3 separate regions of the Homo sapiens genome follow, and all the other regions are linked to region 3. Evidence: promoter capture Hi-C in human tissues and cell types (Jung and others, 2019). All regions are on one chromosome and are shown on one strand. Each heading gives the region's core, a stretch centred on a gene start or on the middle of the fragment in contact. The rest is flanking DNA. Distances are from core to core; before and after follow the strand shown.

What was found. The method cuts DNA at HindIII sites, captures the fragments that hold promoters and counts their contacts. A contact is called where the count stands out against the background at its distance.
Region 1: a fragment that was not itself captured here is called in contact with the fragment with the promoter of PXDN in region 3 in 8 of the 25 tissues and cell types used here (H1 embryonic stem cells, IMR-90 fibroblasts, adrenal gland and 5 more).
Region 2: a contact is called between a fragment that was not itself captured here and the fragment with the promoter of PXDN in region 3, in 1 of the 25 tissues and cell types used here (mesendoderm cells).

The regions. Positions count from the first base shown.
Region 1 is chr2:1,551,935-1,556,359 of GRCh38, reverse strand. All of the region lies in intron 4 of LALTOP (lung cancer associated lncRNA targeting TOP2A), which reads left to right. It overlaps LOC102723730 (a long non-coding RNA gene), which reads right to left. Exons shown (of 3, transcript NR_168373.1): 1 at 3,806-4,425; 2 at 3,503-3,622; 3 at 1,805-2,190. Among named protein-coding and RNA genes, the nearest start is that of LALTOP, 71 kb to the left of the region's middle. The HindIII fragment of the contact is 7,991 bases long and covers 1-4,425 here.
Region 2 is chr2:1,570,623-1,575,137 of GRCh38, reverse strand. All of the region lies in intron 4 of LALTOP (lung cancer associated lncRNA targeting TOP2A), which reads left to right. Among named protein-coding and RNA genes, the nearest start is that of LALTOP, 53 kb to the left of the region's middle. RefSeq lists an enhancer at 2,463-2,964. The HindIII fragment of the contact is 6,127 bases long and covers 1-4,515 here.
Region 3 is chr2:1,741,607-1,746,098 of GRCh38, reverse strand. It overlaps PXDN (peroxidasin), which reads left to right and starts at 1,584. Exons shown (of 23, transcript NM_012293.3): 1 at 1,584-1,843. The coding sequence starts at 1,644. The HindIII fragment of the contact is 6,203 bases long and covers 1-2,410 here.

The DNA of each region.
Region 1 (4,425 bases), core at 208-2,707, 190 kb after region 3:
TCTGAAGTAAGAGGCAGAAACTTCACCAGCAGAGGCTGAGAAATAGGGAATTAATATACAGTTCTTAGTATAGGATGATGTGAGGGGTTTTTGTGTACACAATGGGAGACTTTGTATACAGCTCTCAGTATAGGATGATATGACGGGTTCTTGCATACACAATGGGAGACTTTGTATACAGCTCTCAGTATAGGATGATATGAGGGGTTTTTGTGTACACAATGGGAGACTTTGTATACAGCTCTCAGTATAGGATGATATGACGGGTTCTTGCGTACAGAATGGGAGACTTTGTATACAGCTCTCAGTATAGGATGATATGACGGGTTCTTGCATACACAATAGGAGACTTTGTATACGGCTCTCAGTATAGGATGATGTGACGGGTTTTTGTGTACAGAATGGGAGACTTTGTATATGGCTCTCAGTATAGGATGATGTGACGGGTTTTTGTGTACAGAATGGGAGACTTTGTATACAGCTTTCAGTATAGGATGATATGAGGGGTTTTTGTGTACACAATGGGAGACTTTGTATACAGCTCTCAGTATAGGATGATATGATGGGTTTTTGTGTACAGAATGGGAGACTTTGTATACAGCTCTCAGTATAGGATGATATGACGGGTTTTTGCATACAGAATGGGAGACTTTGTATACAGCTCTCAGTATAGGATGATATGACGGGTTTTTGTGTACAGAATGGGGGACTTTGTATACAGCTCTCAGTATAGGATGATATGAGGGGTTTTTGTGTACACAATGGGAGACTTTGTATACAGCTCTCAGTATAGGATGATATGACGGGTTTTTGTGTACAGAATGGGGGACTTTGTATACAGCTCTCAGTATAGGATGATATGACGGGTTTTTGCGTACAGAATGGGAGACTTTGTATACAGCTCTCAGTATAGGATGATATGAGGGGTTTTTGTGTACACAATGGGAGACTTCGTATACAGCTCTCAGTATAGGATGATGTGTGAGGGGTTCTTGCGTACAGAATGGGAGACTTTGTATACGGCTCTCAGTATAGGATGATATGACAGGTTCTTGTGTACAGAATGGGAGACTTTGTTGGGTGACGCTGTCCATGGGCAGCTCTTTCCTGGAGTGCTGGCCCCTTCCCTCGCTGCAAAGAGAACGGAGTCCCCCTCGTCTCAGCTGCAATGTTCGGTTTAATTTCATGCTCTCAGGGCTGAGGAGAAATCCTTGTGGGTTTGAAACCTTCCTGTGAAATCGCTGCAAAATGTGGTTATTGTTCCGACCTCCTGCTTCTGCCTGGAGTGACTTCTAAACCCAAATCTTCACACAGACATCATACATGCACACCCATAGAACACACACATTCACCACACACCACACACACGCATCACACATACATATATATGCATACACATACAATGCGGCTTCTGCGAGGAAGAAGTGATGATATCCAGAAAGCCACCTGGCATGACCCCAGCTCCATGCCCAGGGCTCAGGGGAGGGTGTAAAACTTCAGCAAGCGTTGTTTGTGCAACCCCCAAACTTACCCCTCTTATTTCTATGTCTCTCATCACAGCTTATTCTGAGGCAAAGAGAGAGATACTCTCAGTGACTTACATTTTAGTGAGAATTTTAACACTAAGATTTTAAGCAAGACTTTCCACTGCCCTCTTCTAATATAGCAAGTCTTTTGTAATGCGGCTTGACCATGTAATGGGGAATTTATAGCTCATGTAACTTCCCTTTCCATATAGTTTAAAAATCAACATAATGCTGTAAGTAAGTGTAAGATAAAGGAAAAATAACATGAAAGTAATTTATAATCTATAACATGCACTTTAATATGACAATGATCACTGACAACTGCCTAGAAGGTTGGTTAAAGTTGCCTGATGCCTGCTAATGAAGATAAAAAAGAAGTAAAACAATTGTCAGTGGAACAGTCTCAATGCTTTTTACTTCCAGTTCCCATTGTGAATGCATGACTAAGACGTCCTGAGCAGGGTTTTGGAAGGTGTAGTGATCTTTGTGCAACGTGGAGAACCTTGGTATAAAGTCCCTGTGAAATGAAATAATTCAGATGTGAAGCTGTTGTAAGTTGAGATCATTTTGCACCTTGAGAGGAATGTGGCCGTGTGGCTTGAGTCACAAGGTGTGAAGCTGCAACTTCTTTGATTCTGGGTCAAATCTCTTCCTCATTCTTGTCCTGTAAATGATTAGAAAGGACTGACTGGTACCATAGATGAGGCCCCTCAAGACGATTACTCCTCCTTGTGGAAAGTTAAAGCGAGTTTCCTTGGAATGCAGCAAGCTGTGAGCAATCCAGTGAAATAGATTTAACCTGTGACCTCCTTGAAACAGGCTGTAGCCCTGTCATACTTCTGTCTCTGCTTATAAAATGAAACTTTAACTTCTCACTTTAAAAGCAGAGCCCATTCATCTAGAGTCTGTGTTTCCAAGGTGATGACCCTCAAGCTTTGCACTCAAATAAACTCTATACTGAATCATCTTTTCCAAATTTCATTATTGACGATTGGCATTTTGCTAACCACAAAGGGATGTGAAGTGGGCCTCCAGTGATCCCCATTACATCACCAACAGCCAGAGCCTTGCTGTCAGCACACATGGCTTGGGTTCACCGGACCTCGCTGGAGTCAACACGGACCTCTGGGAAGGATCTTCTCGGGTCCGAACCTCCCAGCTTGTTGAAGTTCTGACTTTTATTTGAGCCACACAAATTCCTAACTCGATAGGGCTGGAAGACCTACTGCAAGCTTGGAGTTTTGTTTGTTATTCTTCTGGGATTCTGCTGACCCCAGATTCAAGACTTTGATTTTTTTTTGAAGTTAAGGTTCTGTTTTGAATTATTCATTAGAGTTTCTAGAACCTTTTGTCCCATTTGAAATTTTGGTCAGGAAGAAAACAGTTTCTCTTTGAAAAGAGAAATTGAAGCTATGTGGATTGAGCAAAATTTGTAATGTTTGAAACTGGCCAGATTCTGAAGGCCAATTCAATAAGCAAATGTAAACTTCCTTCTCAAGTGACCAGAATTATAAAAGGTCCTCTAGGAGGACGAGGTAAGGCCCAGAAGGGAAGGACAGTGTACCTCCTAACTGAAAAAGGCCCTGAATGATAGCCACGTGTCATGTTAATAAACAATGAAGATGCTTTTATGAGAAAGGCTGCATTACAGGCTCGTATAGCCTTAGACAGACTCACTGCAGCCCCAGAGGGAACCTGCACCATCACAAAGACTGAACGTCATGTCCCTAACCCAGATGAATCAGATAATGTCCCTAAATTAATTACCGATATGAAAACCCAATAACAAAACTTTCAGATCCAAAACCTCTCCACACAGTTGGTTAAGCAGCTGGTTTAGGTCTTGGGGAACTTGGCAGAAGCAGCTGTTAATCAATCGTTGGTTGGGTTCTGGCCTGTTTTGTCTTCCCTGCTCTGGCATTGGTGTGCAATGGAGTCAGTTCACAACTGAAGATACTAAAATAATCGTCACTCACAGAATCCCATTAACGGACAATGCAGCTGTGTAGCCTGACCAAGGTCACCACGTCACTTCCTTCATGTGGCTCCAGGTTCGGCCTATGCCCCGTCAGTTCTGTACAGCTTGGCACATGGCCCTAGACATGGGAGACAACGTCCTAGGAGTGAACCTTCCTAAGTATCTGGGGCTAAGCCCCTAAACATACAGAGATTCCCAAACCATCTGCATTCAGCTACTAAGCTTTCTTCAAAAGGATCATGTTGATGTTGAAAAGGGGAGATGTGAAATTAATCCAAACTGAAAGCTGTTGGAACCGTACCTGATTTTGAGCCTTGAGAGGAACGTGGCTGTGGGGCCTGCGTCGCATGGTGTGAAGCTGCACCTTCTGCTTCTTTATTCTGGGTCAAATCTCTTCCTCATTCTTGTCCTGTAATGATTAGGAAAGACTGAATGGTACCAGAGGTGAGACCGCCTCAAGACCATTACCCTTCCTTATGGGATGTTAAAACAAGCTTCCTTAGTGTAGCGAGCTGTGACCAATCAAGTCAAATCGCTATAACCTATGTCTTGATCTTGTTGGAAAATGCTGCAACCTGTTAAACCTCTGCCTCTGACTATGTAAATGAGACTTTAACTTTCCATTTTGAGAGTCTGTGTTTCCTATGTGACTATCCTCCAACTTCGTGTTCAAATAAACTCCACACTTCATCATATTTTTGGATTCTAAGTATTTAAGCTTGAAAATTGCAAAGACACATTATCATGTTTATGCGCTGTCAGCATTCTATGGAAGTTTAGTGCAATTAAAATCGGGAAAAGGGTCAGGTGCAGTGGCTCACACCTGTAATCCCAGCACATTGGGAGGCCGAGGTGGGCAGATCACCTGAGGCCAGGAGTTAGAGACCAGCTTGGCCAACATGGTGAAACCTCATCTTACTA
Region 2 (4,515 bases), core at 887-3,386, 170 kb after region 3:
ATTTAAATTTTTTCCCTTCTAATTCCTTCACAAACTTTATCGACCCATGAGACCAAAGCCCCAGATAAACTGAAAAACTGTGTCCTGGAAGGATAAGCCTTCAAGTCTTCTAGGGAGATATGTGTATGAAACATTCAGACATCCTTTTATTCCAGAATCTTAGCTTCTTTGCCTGATTTTTATAATATTATTCCCTTCCAATTGTATTGTATCTAACTTAGAAAAGCCTCTCACATTGCTATGGTCTGAATGTTGGTGTCTCCCTCAAATTCATGTTGAAACCTAACCCTCAAGGTAGCAGTATGAAAAGTTGGGACCTCTGGGAGGTGATGGGGTCATGAGGGTGAAGCCCTCATAAATGGGGTTAGTACCCTTGTAGAAGGGACCCCGAGAGCTCCCTCACCTGCCCCATTGGTGAGGACACAGTGAGAAAGCACCATCTGTGAACTGGAAATGGAGCCCTCATCTCTCAGCAACCCTGGCAGCCCCTTGATCTTGGACTTCCAGCCTCCAGAACTGTGAACAATAAATGTCTGTTGTTTCTAGACGCCCTCGTCTAGGGCACTTTGTTACCACTGCCCACACAGATGAAGACCCATGTTTATCCAATATCACTCAACGGCTTTCCTCCTCCTGTCCATGAGACCTGCTCTAACATACCCCAGCGGATCGTGAACACTTGGCATTTCTGATGCATTTTGACGCTTATCTAACTCACCCTCATGCTGCAGTGTGTCGGGTATTCCAGATTCCCCTTCACAGAGGGTCCCCTGTCTCATCCTCCTCCACTGCCCTTCACCGCCTGTCTGCCCTGCTATCATCTCCCGTCTTGTCCGGCCTCCCCCAACCACACTCTCCCTTCACCTAGCAGAAGAGAGGACTCCACCTGCCTGGAGAATGCTCTGGGTCTGACCCCTGCCTGCTTTTTCATGTATTTGTTTTGTTGCTTTTTCCTACCAACTTTCGTTGGGGCTAAAGTGCCTTGTCCTCTGTCTTTGCCAATCTGGGCGGCTGCATCTGTGGTTCCCCTGGCTGGCTGCTTGGTAGTTTGAATTTATTTTCTGTCTTCCATAAGCCTGACTCCTCTTTACTTCTAGGTATTTGAATCCACCTTTCTGCTCCCAGAAATACTTTCCTGGTGTTTGTACCTTTCCACACTCTGCCCACTCTATCCACCTTTTCAGAGTCAGATCAGATATCACATTTTTCTGTCAGAACTTCTCCATTCCAACTGAAAATGATTGCCCCATTCTCTATCATCCTTTTCCAACTTATGCCACCTTTTATTGTATCTGAAATGTTCTGGTTTTGATAATTTGAAAAATGTTTTGTATGCTGGCATCTTACTTCCCCATTGTCTTGAGGAGGGGGAGCTTCCAACGTGTTTCTCGCTGAGCCGGGCTCACAGCTTGCCTTCTGCTTGGATAGGGTTGTTGCCTAAGGATATTTGTTGTTTCACTGAATATTTTTGAATCTAAATACAAAAAAACAAACTTGGGCTTTTTTCTGCTTCCTTATTATAACCCCTTTAAACATATTTTCTTTGCAATGTGTAATTGCACCAACTTATTGGGCAAATATCATGCTTTTGTGTATTTTAAGTTCACAGATAACCACTCATCATTTCTAGCTCTGTATGTGTAAGTCTGGACCCTAAGTGCAATTTCCATTGTGTTAATATTGACTGTCTTTGTAATGCCTGTGTTTAGTTTGAGCACATTGGTTAATTTCACTTATATGATAAGGCATCCTACACTTCTTAACCATACTTTCTTGCAAGACTGCTGTAACTATTTTAATCAATGCCTTTCAAGGTACCCAGGCTCTGGAGAGAAGAGTGGAAGTTGAGAGGATGAGGGGAACCAGCTTCCTGAGGAAGTGCCCCGTCCTTGGCACAGGGCTGGGAGGTCTCCTTTAACCTTATTTGGCGGTCCACACCATTCACTTTGGCAGTTGAATCTGTCTTGGGATAGTCAGTATTTCTCTTGGTGATCTCAAAGTGCAGATTGGCATGGAGAAGGGCAGCAAGTCGTGGGCCCTTCCTGGGCAGAGAATCTACCTCATAGTGTAGACATTCATGGGGGGTTCTGGACAGGGCACTCCCCGCATGCTTTTTACTTTGTTTTGTTTTACTTCTTAGCCTTGCCCTTCAGGAGGCAGAGGGCGGTTGAGTCACTGTGGTCGTCTAAGAACTAAGGACATCTAGTTACGTACAGAGTCTTCGCCATCCTCCTCCGACCTCCAATATCCAAGGAACAACTTGCAAAGTGGTCTGTTTTCCCAGCAGGAAAATCCACTGGGGCGGGGCGTGGGCCAGTGTGGGTGGAGGAATGACTCCTCTCCCAGGGGTGAGATTCTTGAAGCTTGAATTGTCCGAGCTGTTGTTTCCTCCCCTTCTTGGTCACTGCAAATGCAATTATGAAATAATTCTCGGGGAAGCATGAGCAACATACTCTGCAGTGACTCCAGACTGGACCTTCCAGCTTTGATCATTTGCAGGACTCAAGTCCACACAGGAGATTGAGAGAAGAAAAAAGGACTCAGAGGCAAAGACAGCTCTGAGCCCCTAAGGGAAAGCTCAAAGTCAGGGTGCTAGGAGGACTTGCCCAGCTGTGTAGACACAGCTGAGCTATGTCTACATTGAGGCCGAAAGTTAGAAAGACATTGACACTAACCCCTGAAAGTAATTAACATAACGATCATGTATTGTCTATTACAGATTGGCGTGATGACTAGCTGCAGGACGGTTTTGGTTTTCTAATTGTTCTCTGACATCCCCATTGAAGCAGGTTTTATCATCTGTGACCTTGTGTCCATCCCTGTGATGTTGTGTGCGTGTGTGTGCATACGGACACATACAACACACGTCTTTGGTTGTAAAGCACACCTGGGGGAAGGTCAGCTCACACACAATGTACTGTCAGGGAGCTCTTCCCCAGGCCTGGCAGCCTCACCCCACAGTGGCCACCACAGGCCCATCAGCCTCTGCCATCGTGGTCTGCCTGCAGTTGAGTTTGTTAATTGACATAATATATGTTGAAACTAATTTTCATTGGCGAAATCAGTGGCAATTCAGAAGTGTGGATTGCTGTAGAAATACTGTGCCCGTCCCCCATGTATGAATAAGGGTCTAAGAACCTTGTAGGTGGAATGCCCTAAGCCCCTGGTGGTGCGTCCCACACCTCCCAGAAGGACCTGCCACCTGGTCTCTGCAGGTGGTGGTCTGCTGCCACCCAAGTGTGACCCTGCCTGTCTCTCTTCTGAGATTGGTTCATAACTCGTCACCCCTACGACCTGCAGATTGCAAGTTTAAGAGAGGACGCTGGGAGGAGAGCCAGAAAGGGGAGGTCGGGACATGTGAAACCTTGCACGGTGGGTGGGGGCAGGACAGTGGGCGGCTCAGGTGTGGAGACAGCATCCTTAGGGTGTGGACTGGGGCTGCCAAGTGTGGACAGCTCTCTGTCTCTCCAGGGAGAGCCCATGGGACCCCAGCTTCTGCAGGACGTGTGCTGGGGCTGGGTGGCCTCACCCCTGCTGGCTCCTCTCCTGGGAGTGGGAAGGCAGGGGAGGGTTTTCTTTTCTTAGATTTCTAAGAAAAAATGTCTGTCCACTATAAACCGAACTGTCTCCCCAGAATCCACACATTGACATCCCAAACCCCAGGATGACTGCATTTGGGGAAAGGGTTCTAAGGAAGTAAATCAGGTCCAAGGGGGCCATGAGGGTGGGGCTTTGATCCAATAGGACTGGTGTCCTTAGAAGAAGGGGAGGAGATGGCAGGGCTGCACTCTCTCCACCACGTGAGGACACAGTGAGAAGGCACCGCTGTCGTCAAGCCAGGAATGGAGCCCCCACCAGACTTAGAATTGCCTCATACCTGGATCTTGGACCTCCAACCTCCAGACTCAGAGAAATGCATGTCTGCTGTTTAAGCCGCCCATCTGTGGTGTTTTGTTATTGCAGTTCGAGCTGGCTGAGATAACATAGAAGAAAATGCAGAGAGAACGTGGGGAGACACCACTGTAAATGCATGAAACTCTTGAGACTTCAGGCTACAGCTTAAAAAAATCCTTCTAACAATTGCAAAGATATGGCATCTACCTAAGTGCCCATCAACTGATGAGGGGATAAAGAGCTGCATGTACACCATGGAATACTACTCAGCCATGAAAAAGAATGAAACGATGTCTTCTGCAGCAACTTGGTTGAAGCTGGAGGCCATTATTCTAAGTGAAATAACTCAGGAATAAAAAACCCAGATGCCTTATGTTCTCACTTATAAGTGGGAACACAAGGCTACGGGCATGCAAAGGCATGCAGGGTGGTATAATGGGCACTGGAGACTCAGAGGCGGGGAGGGAGACGGGGTTGAGGGATGGAAAGTTATGCCTTGGGTATGATGTGCACTACTTGGGTGACAGGTGCACTAAGATCTTAGACTTCACCACTGTACCTTCATCTGTGCAACCAAAAACCTCTTGTACCCCTAAAGCTATTGACATTATACAATTAAAA
Region 3 (4,492 bases), core at 335-2,834:
GATCTTGCAGGAGAGATGTCTGCAGTGTGAGCTGGACCCACTTCTGTGTGTGGATAGTATCCTGCAGGAGAGATGTTGTCTGCAGTGTGAGCTGGGCCCACCGGAGTGTGTGAATAGGATCCTGCAGGAGAAATGGAATCCGGAGTGTGAGCTGCATCCGCTGTAGAGGGTGGATAAAATCCTGCAGGAAAGATGGCATCTGGAATGTCAGCGGGAGCCACCGACCTCTGAGGATGCACCCCGCAGGTGTGATGCGGGGCCAGTTCCAAGGCTGGGTTAGGTTTTACCCTGGCTTCTGTGTTGTACTCTCATTCTCTTCCTCTTTCTTCTAATACCTGCTCTGGGAGGCATCAGGCCATGTCCAGTGTGCAGGCCATGGAGACCCACACGGCAAGGAACTGGAACCCCCTGCCAGCAGCCTCGGGGGTCCAGTCCTTAGATGGTGCCCTGTGGTCAGCAATGCACCTGTGACCTCCGGGCTATGTCTCGTGGTAGTTGCTTTTGTGTTTTAACATAGCAACAGGAAACTAGCCTATTACCCACCAATCCCATTCCAGGCTGCTTTCAAACGCAGCTCAGGCTAGAACACCAGCACGGGGACACAGCTGAGACTTGGGGTTTGCGACGGGAACACGCCCATGCTGTGCCTCTGAATCTGGCACCGTCACCCTGTGGCCTGGGTTCAGCAACTTGGCCTCACCTTCCTTGTCTGTGAAATTCAGACTGGGTCCTTGTGAGATGATTGGAGAGAATGTATGAACTATGTGAGAACGCCACCTTTGTGCGTATCTCACGCAGTGTCTTCCCTCCTTTCCAAAGTCTTCTGCTGTCTCTAGACACACCCGACGTGGGGGGGGGGGGTTCCCTGGGTCTCCTCCTAGGTCTGTCCCAGGAGGGCACGCACTGAAGGCCGCGAGAATCCCGGGGGCTGCATTGCGCCGCGCCAAGGACTCCACACAGGACCTTTCATTTTCCCAACTGTGCTGAGCCAGGCGGCCGGCAGAGAGCAGGTGGCTGACAGGCCCCGGGGAGCCGGACCGCCTGGGTCTAATCTTCCCGCAGACTCCCTTGCTGTGCGCTTTGGGGCTTGGGCCTCAGTTTCCTCAAAAGGAATGAGGGGCTTTTTTGGAACGTTAAATAATTTCCTACGTGGTTGCGGGTAGGGAGAAGGAGAAAGAGAGGAGCGCGCCTGCGCGCCTGGAATCGTGCCCGGATCAGAGCAAGCGCTCTAAAAGTGTTACAAACATTAAGGCGCCAACTAAAAAACCCGTAGTGAGCGCAGGCAGAAACCACGGGTAAGAGAAGTGGAGAAGCTTCGCGTAGGCCCCAGGGTCCCGAGCCCCGAGTCTCGAGCGCAGAATCAGGGGTGCCAATGCTCTCCTCCGCGCCCCCGAGCGCTCGCCTTGGCCATGCGGGCCGCCCCACCGGGATGAGGGCGCTCAGGCCGGACGCTGGGGCCCCGGGTTCTCGCCCCGCCCCGCCCTCGGGGATTCAGAGGGGCCGGGAGGAGCCTCGCGCATGTGCACAGCTGGCGCCCCCCGCCCCCCGCGCACAGCTGGGACGTGGGCCGCGGCCGGGCGGGCGCAGTCGGGAGCCGGCCGTGGTGGCTCCGTGCGTCCGAGCGTCCGTCCGCGCCGTCGGCCATGGCCAAGCGCTCCAGGGGCCCCGGGCGCCGCTGCCTGTTGGCGCTCGTGCTGTTCTGCGCCTGGGGGACGCTGGCCGTGGTGGCCCAGAAGCCGGGCGCAGGGTGTCCGAGCCGCTGCCTGTGCTTCCGCACCACCGTGCGCTGCATGCATCTGCTGCTGGAGGCCGTGCCCGCCGTGGCGCCGCAGACCTCCATCCTGTGAGTGCCGCGGGGGACGCCGGGGGCGCGGGGTCCGGGGCTTCGTGGAGATCCGGGAGCGCAGGGGTGATCGGAGGTGGGGGGCGCGGAGGGTGGAGGGGGCATCGGGCGCGCGGGGGGCCTGGGGACTTGGGACGCAGAAGGGAACCTCCGAAGGGGGACGTGGGGGGACCTGGGCGCGGGGACCCGCTGGGCCTTTGTTCGCCCTGCGGGAGACGCCGAGGGGCGGAACAGAGCGCTGTGCGCGCGGCCTTCGTAGCCGCCTTTGTTCGGAACTCGGAATCCCCGCAGGACTGGGAAGTTGTTGGAGCCTCCGGGGCTCCCCCCGCTCGCCTCCCGCCGCCCCCTCTCATGCTCCGCCGGCCTCCCGCTTCCCCCTGGTTCGCGGCCCCTCCTCCGCTCACCTTTCCCCCGCTCAGGACCCCTCGGTCCCCCTCCGCTCCCCGAGCGCGGCGCAGCCCCCTCCGTCCTCCCAGCCCCCTCCGCCCCGTTCCTCGTCCTGTTCGCTCCCCTCCTCCGCTCCTCTTCCTCCTCCCCTTCCTCCTCCTCCTCCCCTTCCTCCTCCTCCTCCCCTTCCTCCTCCTCCTCCCTTCCCCTCCTCCTCCCCCCCTTCCTTCTCCTCCCCCAGCCTCCGCCCTCTCCCCCTCCCCCGCCCCTTGGAGCGCAGTGCCCACCCCATCCCCCCGCGCCGGGGAAGCCTCCCCAGAGGAGCCTCAGTTCCCGCAGCCGCGGCGCCCCCGCTCCCAGTGCCCCCGCATCTGCCCGGAGCGTCCTCTCCTGGGGTGTCCTGGGGGCCCCGCGCTTCTCAGGGGCTTTTCCTGCGCCCGGAGCGAGCCGGGCGGCCGGGGTTCCCGAGAGGGGCCGCGCGGTAGTCTCGGGGCAGCCCGGGTCTAGATGGAGCCGGGACTCAGAGCGGGTTTCTGCCTCGGGCATTTCTCTTCTTTCGCTTCTAATCCACGCGAGCGTGTTCGCAGTTGCGCTATACGTTTAACCGGATGCGTTGCGTTGGGGTTGACACCCTGTCCTGCGGGCCGTCCCGCGTCACGGTCTCCACAGCAGGAATCCCCATCCCTCCGCCCCGCGGCTCCAGGTACCGAGATGCCGCCAGAGTTCGCTGCAGGCCTCCTGTGTTCTGAAGCGAGTCGGATTCAACATTTTCGGGATCTGTGAACGCGGGCTGCGTTTCAGGCGCCGACTCTAATTTAGTCCTGTAGCGACTTTTCTGCATGCCAAAAATAGTTTTCACGTTTCTTAGCTGAGCCAGAGGACTTTTTGGCACCAGCAAAGAGTCTGCAAAAGTTGTAAAAAAATTGAGTGAACAATTCAGGAAGTGGGCGGCCAGTGCGCCTACCTCCGAAACAAAGTGCTGGGACAGACCACGGCTCCCAGGGGTCGCCGAGTTTGCAGGCTGCTTCCTGGAGGCCCTGGGGCGGGGCGGGGGCCCGAGTTCCTCTCCTCCTCCGCAGAGAGACCAAGGCTTTCTTTCCAGAGCCCGTGAATGGTCAGCCCAGGCCGGACGACTCGGGGGCATCTCACTCAACAGCAGTGGACTTTTAGAATGGAGCCGGGTGAGGTTTCCCTGGGTCTGGATAATGTAATTCTTGCTGAGCCAGTGGAAAAATGGCACCTCAAAGATTTTTCCCATCTGGTCAGTTTCATAAAGCTTGCGGTATGTTTTGCCCCGGAATATTAATTGCTTGTTGAAAATAACATGTTAAAATAAGTGTCGTAGGACACACATGGGGTCCTCTGCTCCGCTTTGCATGGTGTGCTCGTCCACAAACGCCTCACCGAATTTGAAAAAGGAGCTGAGAGTAGACGGGTGACATCATCGTCCACTCGCACAACACTTCCTCATAGGGTACATTTGCATCCATTTCTATCTTAAACTTTCAGGGGTTTTTGCAGTCTTCAGTGATACTTCGAAATGTCGCTGTTGAGTCACGTTGATTCTGTGAGGCAGGTAGACTGGTAGCTGTTAAGTTGATCGAATCCCTTATAGAACTAAACACTTTACTGGAGAAATGAACATACCCATTTTCTGGCGGTGGAAACAGAAGCTCTGGGAGAGAAGCGCAGCTCCTGACGCTATTCCTGTGGCCAAGAGGAGGAGCGTAGCGCTGGTGGCCAGAATGGAGTCCTGGCTGGATGCATTGCAGCCGCGTGATTTTTAGCAAGTCCCGTGTCTCCTGGGAGAACGTGAGGGTGTAGCTGTGCGGACCTAGGCACAGTGGACAGGTGTCATGAGCGAGCGCTAGTGAGTGCAGCCTGGGGAGGCAGGGACTGAGGGAAGAGGGAGACCTATTCTGCGGGGATATCCTGTTGAGGGGTCTCTGGGGGCATGGTCTGGTAGGCTGTTGCTTGAGATGACACAGTTCTACATGATACATGCTACACGTGAAGCAACATTTCATGTCCACTTTCGGCTTTCTCCCAGGACTGTGCTCTCATGTATATGTGATTATTTTCTATTACAATTTTTTGGTAGAAATTGGGAATATACTATATATGAAAATTTAAAAAAAAACCTGCCCCAAAGTTAGTTGGCTCATCCAACCATCACACCGTCCCTTTGCTTTTAGAGACTCACCTCCATCCCAGTCCCCCAAAAGATTAAATCAGAGCCATTGGAAAACATCTTATTGCTCC